2 separate regions of the Homo sapiens genome follow, and region 1 is linked to region 2. The links are contacts of gene promoters, found by promoter capture Hi-C in human tissues and cell types (Jung and others, 2019). All regions are on one chromosome and are shown on one strand. The core of a region is centred on a gene start or on the middle of the fragment in contact, and the rest is flanking DNA. Distances in the headings are between cores, read along the strand shown. Region 1 has its middle 27 kb from the start of LINC01844. Region 2 holds the start of ARAP3 (ArfGAP with RhoGAP domain, ankyrin repeat and PH domain 3).

What was found. The method cuts DNA at HindIII sites, captures the fragments that hold promoters and counts their contacts. A contact is called where the count stands out against the background at its distance.
Region 1: a fragment that was not itself captured here is called in contact with the fragment with the promoter of ARAP3 in region 2 in 1 of the 25 tissues and cell types used here (neural progenitor cells).

The regions. Positions count from the first base shown.
Region 1 is chr5:142,715,655-142,721,427 of GRCh38, reverse strand. No RefSeq gene overlaps it. Among named protein-coding and RNA genes, the nearest start is that of LINC01844, 27 kb to the left of the region's middle. The HindIII fragment of the contact is 3,753 bases long and covers 1-3,501 here.
Region 2 is chr5:141,680,254-141,686,220 of GRCh38, reverse strand. ARAP3 (ArfGAP with RhoGAP domain, ankyrin repeat and PH domain 3) reads left to right here and starts at 3,991. Exons shown (of 33, transcript NM_022481.6): 1 at 3,991-4,048; 2 at 5,718-5,967. The coding sequence starts at 5,735. RefSeq lists a silencer at 3,942-3,991. The HindIII fragment of the contact is 12,570 bases long and covers 1-5,967 here.

The DNA.
Region 1 (5,773 bases), core at 376-2,875, 1.0 Mb before region 2:
AGATCCTTAAACAAAAAGGACTACAGAAATGACAAGCATGATTGTAAGAACTGTACGCAGCTTTTCTTTCTTTTCCTGAGTATGGTAGGAATCTCCAAGGTGAATGTGGCCTCCTGGAACTACCCACCTGGCTGGAAGACTGTCCTGCTCTGTGCTATTTGGGAGTAAGCAAGGCAGCCGCAGCCATATCTGCCTGTCATCCAGGAGCCGGCGTGGCTGGCATGAGTCCTGAGTGGCTGCATATCACCACCAGATGGACTCCTCCATGCCAGGTGCCAGGTTGCTGCAGCTGCCGGGGAGTGTTCCATCAGCAGGACTGTCTGCACCTGGACAGAATGATGTAACCTACAGGAACGCAAGATTCACAGGCGTGCAGACAAGCCTCAGAAAATTATCAGCCTCAGCTCCGAGTTACGGCTGATTCAGCTGCAGTCTCTGTGGTCAGACTTGCCTGTTGAGGCAGGCTGCTTCTCCGGTGGACTGGATGGCGTCACTTGGAATTTATATTAAAGCTGAAGTCTCCCTCAAACTAATGTAACCCTTATTTCCCAGTCCTCGTAAGACAAGTGGAAATCATGGGCCAGGCTTAAGCTTAGCTGATGATCTGATCTCCCAACTGCATTGGGTGCCGCTGGGGTCACCTAAGCCATTGCTCCCTTTCACTCCTTCAGTAAACATTTACTAAGTGTCAGAAATGATAGTAATCGCAAACATTGTCTGAATGATTGCTGGGGTCAGGCATTGTGCTAGACTTGGCACCAGCATCTTCTTATTCAGTACTCACTAAGCTGAATAAGTTTGAGTTCATTTCACAGGTGAGGAAACTCAGCTTCCCAGAGGCAAAGCAGCCTGCCTAAGGCCCCACAAATAATGAGGGGTAGAGCCTCTCATCCATCCACTTCAACAACAAGCCTTACCCTCTCTGTGGGGTCTTCCCCATGGCCTGACACTGAGCGTGTAGACACTGAATCAACACACACAATGTCAGGTCATGATTCCCCAGCCCCTCTGACTGGTCCCTTCCTCCTATCCATCAGCTGTCTCAGGTAGGCTCAACCCTACCATCCCAGGCTCCTTCCTCCTGCCTTATCGCCACTCTGCTGACCTTCCCTGCACCCCTCTGACTTCTAATGCCTGGCCTCTTGAACCTGGTGTTCCTCAGAGTTCTTTGAGACTTAGCCCCCAGGACGTTTCTCCCAGGAAGTCTTCCCTGACCCACCCCTCCTCCACATTTATGACTCCATTATATGATCGCAGTGCATACCAAAGATGCCTTTGTCTCAACATAACATCCCATATTAGGTTGAAATTTTTGGTTTCTATCTGTCAGTATCTTTTATTAAAATGGAGTTTCATGAAATGGGACAGCTGGCACCAGCACGATGCATGGCGCACGGCGGGTCCTCCATGGATGCTTGCTAGACTGAGCACAGCTGACTCACAGGCCTCAGGCACCAGGGCACGGGCAATAAAGACAGTGAACCTAATATTTTAACACAAGAAGGAAAATACAACCTCACAAATGTCACTCATACTTGGAAGAGGGAAAAACACAACTGAAATATGGTCACCAAAGAATATAGGGAAGGATATAACACACAGGCTGAACTCACGACCCTGTAGTCTGACCACCTGGGCTTCGGTCTTGGCTCCCCCACTTAAAACTAGTGAGATTTGGAGCAAGTTGTTTTCCCTCTCTGTACCTCAGTTCTCTCATCTATAGAGTGGGAGTAGATAATCTTACAGGGTTGTATGAGGATGAGATAATTCGTGTGCAGTGTTGAAAACAGTACGTTGTTCATGTTTGGATGTTATCATATTTTTTGTTCATAATAAATGGATTTACTAGAAAGGGGTGAGGGAGGAAACTAAGAAGAAACAATGGTCATAATATTTTTGATTAAGAGTATGGTACAAACCCTCAGGTCCAATTTTTTAAAATGCAGGTCAGAAGTTACCACCCAAAGGTGTACAGATTTTTTTAAATTTTCAATGAGCTGCCTATTTAAAAATGAAGAAATTTTACATTATGAGAAAGAAATCCAGACATCCAATTTCTGTCGAAAAACTGGATGACTTCGCAACTCAGCTTCTACTTGCCCCCGGTAATAATTGTCGGGATTTGTGTATCACTGCCCACTTCAGGGTGGACACGTGCTCTCCAGCTCACGCGACCCCTCCAGGCCCTCCAGCTTCTTACCTGGCCTGCTTCATGCTATAGGCATTTGAGTTTGTGACCTCAGGAAGAGAAGATGTCTTCACAATAACAATATACACAGTTTTCCTCTGCTCAGAACCTATCACACCTCTTTGGTACATCTATCATAAAACTCAGACTTTAACTGCTCCCTCCTCCATCTGGGAGCCCATCTTGCCTCACTTCCTATGACTCCCCATCCATCCTCCCTCCCCACCAGGCTGCCCCCGGCCCCCCTCCCACCCCAGCTCCTCCCTGCTATGGGGCTGGCATGGCCTCTCCGTCCCCTCTGCTTTCCCAAGTCCCCGTGCCCTGTGAAGGTTTAGCTCGTGTCCAGACACCCTAATGAGCTTCTTCCCCACTCCCTAGCCCACGGGTGGTCTCCCTTTTCCAGGCTTGCACTGCCCTTCGGACAAGGGTAACTACTATTACAGTACGGCTGTGTCTTCTTAGTCTTTACTCTGAGAAGAAGCCTGTTCTTATCTATGCAGTTTCTCTCCTTTTCCCCTGCCCCTTGGGGCTTCTGTCCTTGCTGGGCCTGTTCCTGAAATTTTGTGATTTACAACAAAACCAGAACGGGAGGGGGAGAGATTGGAAAAGAGGTATGGGAGGTAAGGGGAAAAGGAAATGAAAACAAGGGCAAACTGAGGGTGTGCTGTTGAGAGTGAAAAAGAAGGCAGGGGGCCCTGCAACAGCAGCTGGGTGGGAGGGAATGGGAGATGAAGCCGGGGAGGGGACGTGTGCAGCATTGCACGGCTCCCAGCTTCCTTGTATTTACCCATGCTGTCAGAACCATGTCGTGTGCCCCCTTTGGTCTGTTTTCAGGCGGCAACCCTGCATTTCATGGAGGACTGGAAGCTCTGTGAGGGCTGACAAATTATTATTTAGTGACCCTTACATCCCTCAGAGCCTTCGGCCCAGGGCTGAGCCCAGGGACTGCACACGTTCATGCAGAATGACTGACCTCAGTATCCCCAGGTGTCCTCAGGCAAATGACCTGAAGAAGACACTGAGCATCAAGAATGTAGCCTCTTCGATTTCACCTCCTGGCAGAAGTGTGATGAGATCAGATACCACCATGGTTTTGCGTCCCAGAGAATAACCAGGAAGATGCTCTGGAGGAGAGAATAGCAGTTCTCGAGCGAGAGCTCACATGGAAATCACCTGGGAGGGGAGGGGTCTTGTTAAACCAGAGATTGCTGGGCTCCACCCCCAGAGCTTCGGATTCAGCAGGTCTGGGCTAGGACCCCAGAATGTGCTTTTCTAACAACTTCCCAGTTGACGGGGATACGGTTGGTCGGGGAGCCACACTTCGAGCAACCCAGCTCTAGAGTTCAGGGCTGAGGTCTGATCCAAAGCCACTTCATCCCACCACTCTACAGAAGGAAAGTGACATCCCCTCCCTCTCTAGCAGGTGACTGTCCCCTCTTCATAATCCAGCACATCACTCAACCCACTTCGGAGCTTTATGGAGACTATAGATGCTCATGGCTGAGTGGAGGGTGTCCTCTTGTGGCCCAGATAGAAAATAACCTGAACTGCAGTGACCTCACTCTCAGCCTTAACAAAGTTTGCCAAACATTGAATTTTATCTGCCTGACAAAAGATCCAGGGAAACAGGATGTTCACCATTCACCGGATCTGGTCCATTGCAGAGGAGGGGCCAAGGGTCCATTCAGCATGAGATGGGTCAAATACTTTGCCCAAAAGGTGTCCAAGGATGGCAGAAATGATTTGTACTCATGACTTTGGGATTTTATAGGGTGGGAAGGTGTCTTAGGAGAATAGTCCAAACCCAGATACTCACAGAATTCTCTGTTGAAGGATACAACTTTGAAAACATGAGTTAGAAGTAAACAATTTCAAAGCCTTGGAAACACCATGTGACTAAGAAGAGACCTTAGAATGACTTTGAACCATGTTTGGATTTGTTCCCTGAACTTTCCTGAGATGAGAAAGCTGGCATCATGAACTGTGGGCTAGTGTAAGAACACTGGAGCAATTGTCACCAGCTCCATCACCAACCAATCTGGTGCAAGCCAGCCCCTTCTCAGCATTTAGCAGCCGTCCAAATACCGTTCTGCGATTCACTGCCACCTACTGCTCAGCCCGGAATGAGCAGGAGTTGGTAACTAGGACACAGGGGCAGTGGAGCGGCGCTTCTCAGAAGTTTGGCTTGTATTAGAATCACCTGGAAGGCTTGTGAAAATGTAGATATAGGGGCTTCACCCCCAGAGATCTGACTCAGTAGGATTGGGGTAGGCCTGAGAATTTGCTCTTCTAGTAAATTCTGGGTGACGCCAAGGCTGCTGGCCAGGAGATGCCTCTTTGGATAACATTTGTAATCCTCCTTCTACCACACACTCGCTGAGCTTGATTATTAATCAGTCACATCTGTAAGTGATCAAGAGCCACTAATTCAGGATGTCTCAACCTGGGTCCGATTGACATTTTGACGTGGCAATTCTTTGTTGTGGGGGTAGTTTGTCCTGTACACTGTAGGATTTTAGCAGTATCCCTGGCCTCCACCTACTTGATGCCAGTAGCAGCCACTTCCCCCAGGTTTCGATAGTTAAATGTGTCTCAGACATCACCAGATGGCCCTGGGAGGCAAAATTCTCCCATTTGAGAACCACCTCTCTAAAAAGCGGGAATGTTTTCCTCTTCCATTTGGCAGACTGTGAGGGTATCTTCAAGTATTGTCTTACCTAGGACACTGACATATAATAAACTCTCAGCTCTTTGGGTTTAAACAACAACAGAAAAAATAGACTACATATCCTGAGTGCTTAGTACGTGTGAGTTACTGTGCTGACGCTTTTTAGTATATAATCAATATTTTTTAAATCTCTGATATATTTTACATTCTTGTTTTTGTAATTAGTGTGTATCTTACCTTTACAGCAGATCTTAATTTGCAGTAGCCCCCTCTCCAGTGCTCCAGAGACACGCAGCTGCCACACTGGGTCCTGCAGGGCTAGACTCTGAGCCCAGATTCTGCCTCTGCCCAAATGGCTTCCAGCCTTTAGATGTGGAACAACACGTGCCAATTTTACTTCAATGTCCTTCCAATCCTGTCCTTATTTCAGCTATTTTATCAGACTCACATACCTATTCATGTACTCTGCAATCAGTCCTTGGAATAGTTCCACATAGTTTAAAATAAGGTCTGCAGTTTTATAAAATTTATCAAACAGCAGAATACCTCATCTGGTGGCCAGACTGTGTTGACTATTATCATATTTTAGTTCTGATAGCTTTTCAAGGGGCTGTTTTCCAAAAAGTCTGTGTTTATGCATGCTAATCCTATCCAACGCTAATCACTGATGCACAAGTTCAATCACACTCTCCCGCTTTTTGGTTTATCTCACAATATCTAGGAGTATTCATCTCCATTCAGAGATTCTGCCTTTTCATTAGCCCTATGTGATGTTTCTCCCTGTCGTTCCTCATGTTATCCTTAGCAAATGTTTCTGATCACTTAGGGAACCAATTATTCTCTAGAAAATTTGCAGTAAACCCTTTAGTCTTACCACATTTGTTCACTCAAATTTTACAGGTATGAAAATCAAGATA
Region 2 (5,967 bases), core at 2,742-5,241:
CGCACCACTCCACTCCAACCTGGGCGACAGAGGGAGACTCTGTCTCAAAAAAATAAATAAATAAAAAGAAACTTGCACCTTGGCATCCCCCTAGGCCCTGTCCCATCTCATCAGGACCAAATGTGGGTGATGGCTGTGCCTTTTACCATCCAGAGGGTAAGGGCAGGAAAGGAGTGTGACCTGGAGGCCACTGGAGACCATGGAGGCGATCAGGAGTTGCAGGGGTGACAGGAAATTGAGTTACAAAAGTGATGGAACAGACAAGATGACAACTGGGGACCCTGGGGAAAATACAAGGGGTACAATGTGGTCTAATTTGGCAATAGGATGCCACAGGCTGATTGATTAAAATAGGTAACGGGATATGCCAGAGTGATGAAGAAACAGGCAAGCTGGGTGCATACCAGAGTTATCATGGAAGTAACTGGCAAAAATAGGAACAAGGAACAGGAAACACTTTGAGCACTCATTGAATGTCAGGTCCTTTCCACATATTACCCATATATTTCCATAGATTAATCTTTACAACCCTGTCAGGCACTATTCTCTCTCCTTTTTTCAGAAAAGGAAACTGAGGCACACAGGGCAAAATAGAGATGAATAATCTGCTCAGGTCACAGCTGGTAGAGGTGGCATCAGGGCTTTATTTTAGAGACTGTTTTTTTGTTGACCTTTTGTTTTAGTTTTTGTTGTTGTTGGTGGTGGTGTTTTGTTTTGTTTTTAGAGACAGGCCTCACTGTCACCCAAGCTGGAGTGCAGTGGTACGATCTCGGCTCACTGCAATCTCCACCTCCTGGCTCAAGCAATCCTCCCACCTCCACCTCCTGAGTAGCTGGGACTACAGGTGCACACTACCACACTTGGCTAATTTTAAAATTTTTAGTAGAGACGAGGTCTTGCTATGTTGCCCAGGCTGGCCTCAAACTCCTGCTCTCAAACAATCCTCCTGCCTTGGCCTCCCAAAATGCTGGGATTACAGGTGTGAGCCACAGTGCCTAGCCGAGAGACCTTGTTCTTAATTACTGCATACCATCCACTTTTGGTGAACAAAGTGGCCTCCAAAGTGATTGTGGCTTAATAGTCTATCATTTGAGTGGGGAACAAATCGAGACATGGAAGGGGCTATTGAAGAATTCCCTTCCACATCTCCTCATTGCTTCATTCTTCCTCTTCCTCTGCTCACTAGTGTCCCTTTTGTCCTATGTGTTAAGATTAAGATTTAAGATTTACTAATTTCGGCCGGGCATGGTGGCTCACGCCTGTAATCCCAGCACTTTGGGAGGCTGAGGTGGATGGATCACCTGACAGGAGTTTGAGACCAGCCTGGCCAACATGGTGAAACCCTGTCTCTACTAAAATACAAAAATTAGCTGGGTGTAGTGGCAGGCACCTGTAATCCCAGCTACTCGGGAGGCTGAGGCACAAGGCTGAGGCACGAGAATTGCTTGAACTCAGGAAGACACAAGCCAGGGGCCAGAAGCCTCCACCTGCCCCATATCATTGAGCCAAAGAAGGGAAGTGGGGTCTGAGGGAGGAAGCCAGGTCTCCCTCTCTGTGGCTCTGCCCCATCATCTGGCATTGGTGTCCTTAACTTGGAGTCAGTGGACTTGGATGGGAAAAGAATATTACTTTCACTAATCTCTAGCTGAAATTTAACATTTCCTCCAATTATGACAATAGCAACAAACCAGTCATTTTAGCCATAACTATGGCTTTGTCACCAGTAGAAATCACATATATTTTTATATCATATTACAATATTGCAGATCTTTTGAAATACCATTTATGCTCATCACTGCATCAAAGTTATGTGAGGTATCAACCTACCACTAGATCTTATTTAAAGCATTAATAAAGAAGCACATATATTACTATATCACATCGGTTTTATATGTGTATTACAACATAATTGGTTTCCTTTGCAATCCTATATATTTTATTTTATGCATTTTAAAATATTATTCTGAGATGAGACCACATACTTTACCGTATTGCCAAAGGAGAACATGGCACAAAAAGGTTCAGAACTCTTGCATCTAGCCCCTGACCCAAACTCCCCGGCATCCATTCCTCAAAACTCCCTGTGCCCTTTACTGTCTTTTCCTGCTCCCTTATTTTGCTGGGTTAGTCTGAGTCCTTAAAGAAGAAGCTGCCAAGGCAGAATGCAAGGATTTGACTAGGGGAGATGCCTGTGAGAGAGGAAGGGAGCCTGGAGCTAGGAGAGCTGTGAAGGAGAGAGGGAAGGAATAAAGGTTGAGAGGAGCATCCTAAAACACCAGTCAAAGGAAAGTTCAGCAAAGCCATTGGGAAATCTTGATCCAAAGTCAGCTGTCAAAGGAGTCCCCTATCTCCCAGGAATGGGTCTGCCTTAGATCTCTGCTGAGCTCTGTCACTGGCTGGGAGCAGCCCAGTGGGAAGCTGGCCTTAGATTTCAGAGAGAAGCAGCTGGGGCCATTGGTTAATTTCACTCCTCACAGTGTAAGATCTGTGAGGAGCATTCTCACTGCCACCACAGTTGCCCATCTGAAAAAAAGGACATGGTGCAGGGGTCCTGTCCAGGGTGGTAGGTGAGCATGGTAGTTATAGATATAGACTTGGAGGGTTGGCTATTTTCTAGCTGCAGAGTCTTGAGCAAGTTATTTAATGCTCCCTGTCTCCTTATATGTAAAATAGAGGTGATAAAATTTCCTATTTGTAGGGATATTTGTGAGGATTAAAGTTTGCAAAGCAATGTTTACATAGATCCTGGAGCACGGTCAGCTCTCAATAATTGGTAGCCCTTATTATGGCTATTGCAATTATTATTTTATTACTATAATTCTCTTTCTCAAAGGGAAGGCCGGGAAAGTGGGGCTCCAGTAGGTTGAAGATGACAGTCCCTCCCCTAGCTGAGGCAGCTGGAAGAGGTGGGAACCACTTCCTCCCACTCCCCTCTTCTTCCCCTGAGGCAGGGGTCTTCCCCTAGCTACTGACAGTTCCTGTGTCTGCTGACTCACAGCCAACTTCCTCTCATACAAACAGGAAAACACAGCCGGCCAGCGCCCCCGCCACCCCCAACACATACACACACACACACACACACACACACACACACACACACACACACACACACACAAACACCCCCCCCCCACACCCAAACACTGGTCCTGCTCAGAGAGGGAAGTGCCTCCGCCCCTGGGAGACAGGCTCCAGGACCGGGGTTCCGGCAAGATTAGCGAAGGAGAGAAGGGCCATTCCTCTTCAGGCCTCCCCGGCATCCCCCCTGAAATTTTAGGGTGGGAGTTGGGGAGAAGGGGCGGCTTCTCCCATGAATGAAACAGCTGCTTGCTTGGTCACTGAGCTTGCAGGGCGTCCGCCTGTCCCAAAAAGGCAGCCCCAAACCTTGGTTTGGAAGTAGGGATGTGCCTTGCGGACCTTCATCCCTCGAAGGAACCTAGGCCGGGCCCTTGGGGATGGAAGTGGGGAGAAACAGACGGGTACCCCTCTGCTGGGCCTCTGCGCTTGTTGCCCAGGCCAAGTCTCAATTCTGGATGTCCAGCTTCCGTCCCCACACTAAACTGGTTGCCAGGGTCCAGCCACCCTTCCGGGCGTGGGAGAGGTGCCCTGGGGGATTAGGGCTCGACCTTTCCTCCTCCCTTTTGGCAGGACTGGAGGGCATGGGAGCAGCGGAGAGGATGCAAAGCCGTCCCTGGCACTCTCCCTTTCTCAGTTTCTACCTCCGTCCCAGTCTCCGTCCCGGTCTCTGCCTCTTTGTCCCTCTCCCTGAGGTTGTCTTCGTCCCAACGTGTTCTGGTCCTTTCTCGGCCTGCGAGAGGGCAGACTGGGGGCAGACTCGGAGATAAGCGCGGCGGTTGGGCAAGAAGCCCAAACCCTTTGGAGGCCTGCGCTTGCACAAGGAGTGGCCGGGGCCCCGCGGAGGGAACCGGCCGGGCGGGGCGGGGCTGGGCCCGTCGAGGGAGGGCAGAGGGGAGGCGGGGCCGGCGCGGCGGGACCCAGAACCTCGGACGAGCGGCGGGCACCCGCGAGCGGACGGCGGCCGCGTAGTGAGGTGAGGACCCCCGCGCCCCCCGGGTCCCTGCTTCCCAGACTCCTCCCCATCACCTTCTCGAGGGCCTTCGTGGGCTCCCAGGCCCCCTCGGCGCCGGCGGCCCTCCCCATCCCTGCCACGACCCGCCCCTCCCTCCTGCTGCCCGGCCTCTGCCCCATCCCTCCTCGCCCCCTCCCTCGTCGCAGCCTGCGCTGCCCGCCACTGCCCGCCCCGCCCCCGCCACTCCTGTCCCGCGAGCACCTCAGCTCCCAGCCCCGTGCTGTCGAGCCCGGCCTGAGTCACCGGGAAACCGGGCCCTGAGTCAGGGCCCGAGGCTCAGCACGCGGGCCCTGGCTTGGGAATGAGGCCCAGCTGGAGAGAGGCAGAGGGAGGCCAGCAGTGATGCTGGGACGGAGAGGGCGTCCTGGTCACCGACAGAGCACAAGAGTAACAGGGAGAGAGCCTAGGCCGAGGCGGAAGACAGAAACCCAGGCTCAGAGGCAGACAGAGACACAGATACAACTCAAGATCTGGTTAGAATTGTAGACTGAGTCAAGGACAAGCTTAATAACAGAGAGCAAAACAGGGTGGGACAAGGAGAGGGACAAAGAAGAATTGAGAGGTTGAGATGGAATGGGGCAGGGACAGTGACAAGGCAGAGATAAAACTCAGGGGCCACAGAATTAGAGACAGGTCTATGAAATAGACCAGGGTCAGGGTCGGGGTCAGGCTGGTGGAAGGGGGACAGAGCACAGAGACCTGAGCCCAAGGGAATGAGCAGGGAAAAGGCAAGCTCAGAAAAGGAAGGCTTGGAGAAAGCAGAGGTGGGGGGATGGCATTTCACACTGCCAAATCGCTACAGGGCATGTGCACACACAGGTGAACAGCATGTGAACATGCTGCCGGTGGGCAGAGAGTCCAGAAGCCTCTGGAGTACCCCTGACCAGAGGTCAGGCCTCATCTCTCTGGCATCCCCATCCTTATTCTTCAATTAGCCTCCACCCAGGGCCGGGACCCCACACATTAGGACTGGTTAGGGCTCTCCCGGCAGCCTGACCAAAGCAGGCAGGATGTGGAGGCGGCCAGGGCTGGAGGGACAGGAAGGAAGTCTGAGCAGAGACAATAGGTGGAAGGGGAGGAGGGACTGGGAACAACCAGGATTAGGACGGCAGGCCTGCATACATCGGCTCTGGAAACAAGAGGGAGGGGGCGTCTGCACCTCCTTCCTCCTATCTAGGCTGCCCCTCTCCCTACCTTACTCCAGAGCTGATTGGCCACATCATTGGCCCCTCCTCTGCATCTCCCTATCCCACTCTGACCCACAGCATTCTAGCATCTTGTCCCATGCTTACTCAGTTGGATGTGCAGTCAGGCAGGAGCAGAGCTTTGACCCAGACCCAGGGTGGGCAGGAACTGAGGGGCCAACTCTAGCACTGACTTACTGTGAACCTGGGGCAAGCCCCTTCCCCTCTCTGGGCCTCAGTTTCCTTAACTTCAAATGAAGTCCCTTCCCTAAGTAGAGAGCCATTGCTGTTGTTCTGGGATGGCTCTGCTTCCAGATCGCAGGCCTTTCAGCATCTTTCTTTGGAGGAAGATTGGAGGCTGGTGCTCACTGTCCAGGCCTCAGACTCTGGGGCAGAGAGGGGGATTCTCAGCCTGAGCCCTCCCTTCACCCTGCCCCTCCCCCCAGCAATGGCCTGAGCCCCCATGGCTGCCCCTCAGGACCTGGACATCGCTGTGTGGCTGGCCACGGTGCACCTGGAGCAGTATGCAGACACGTTCCGACGGCATGGCCTGGCTACAGCAGGTGCAGCCCGGGGCCTGGGCCACGAGGAGTTGAAGCAGTTGGGCATCAGCGCCACAGGGCACCGGAAACGCATTCTACGCCTGCTACAGACAGGCACCGAAGAGGGCTCCCTGGATCCCAAATCAGATAGTGC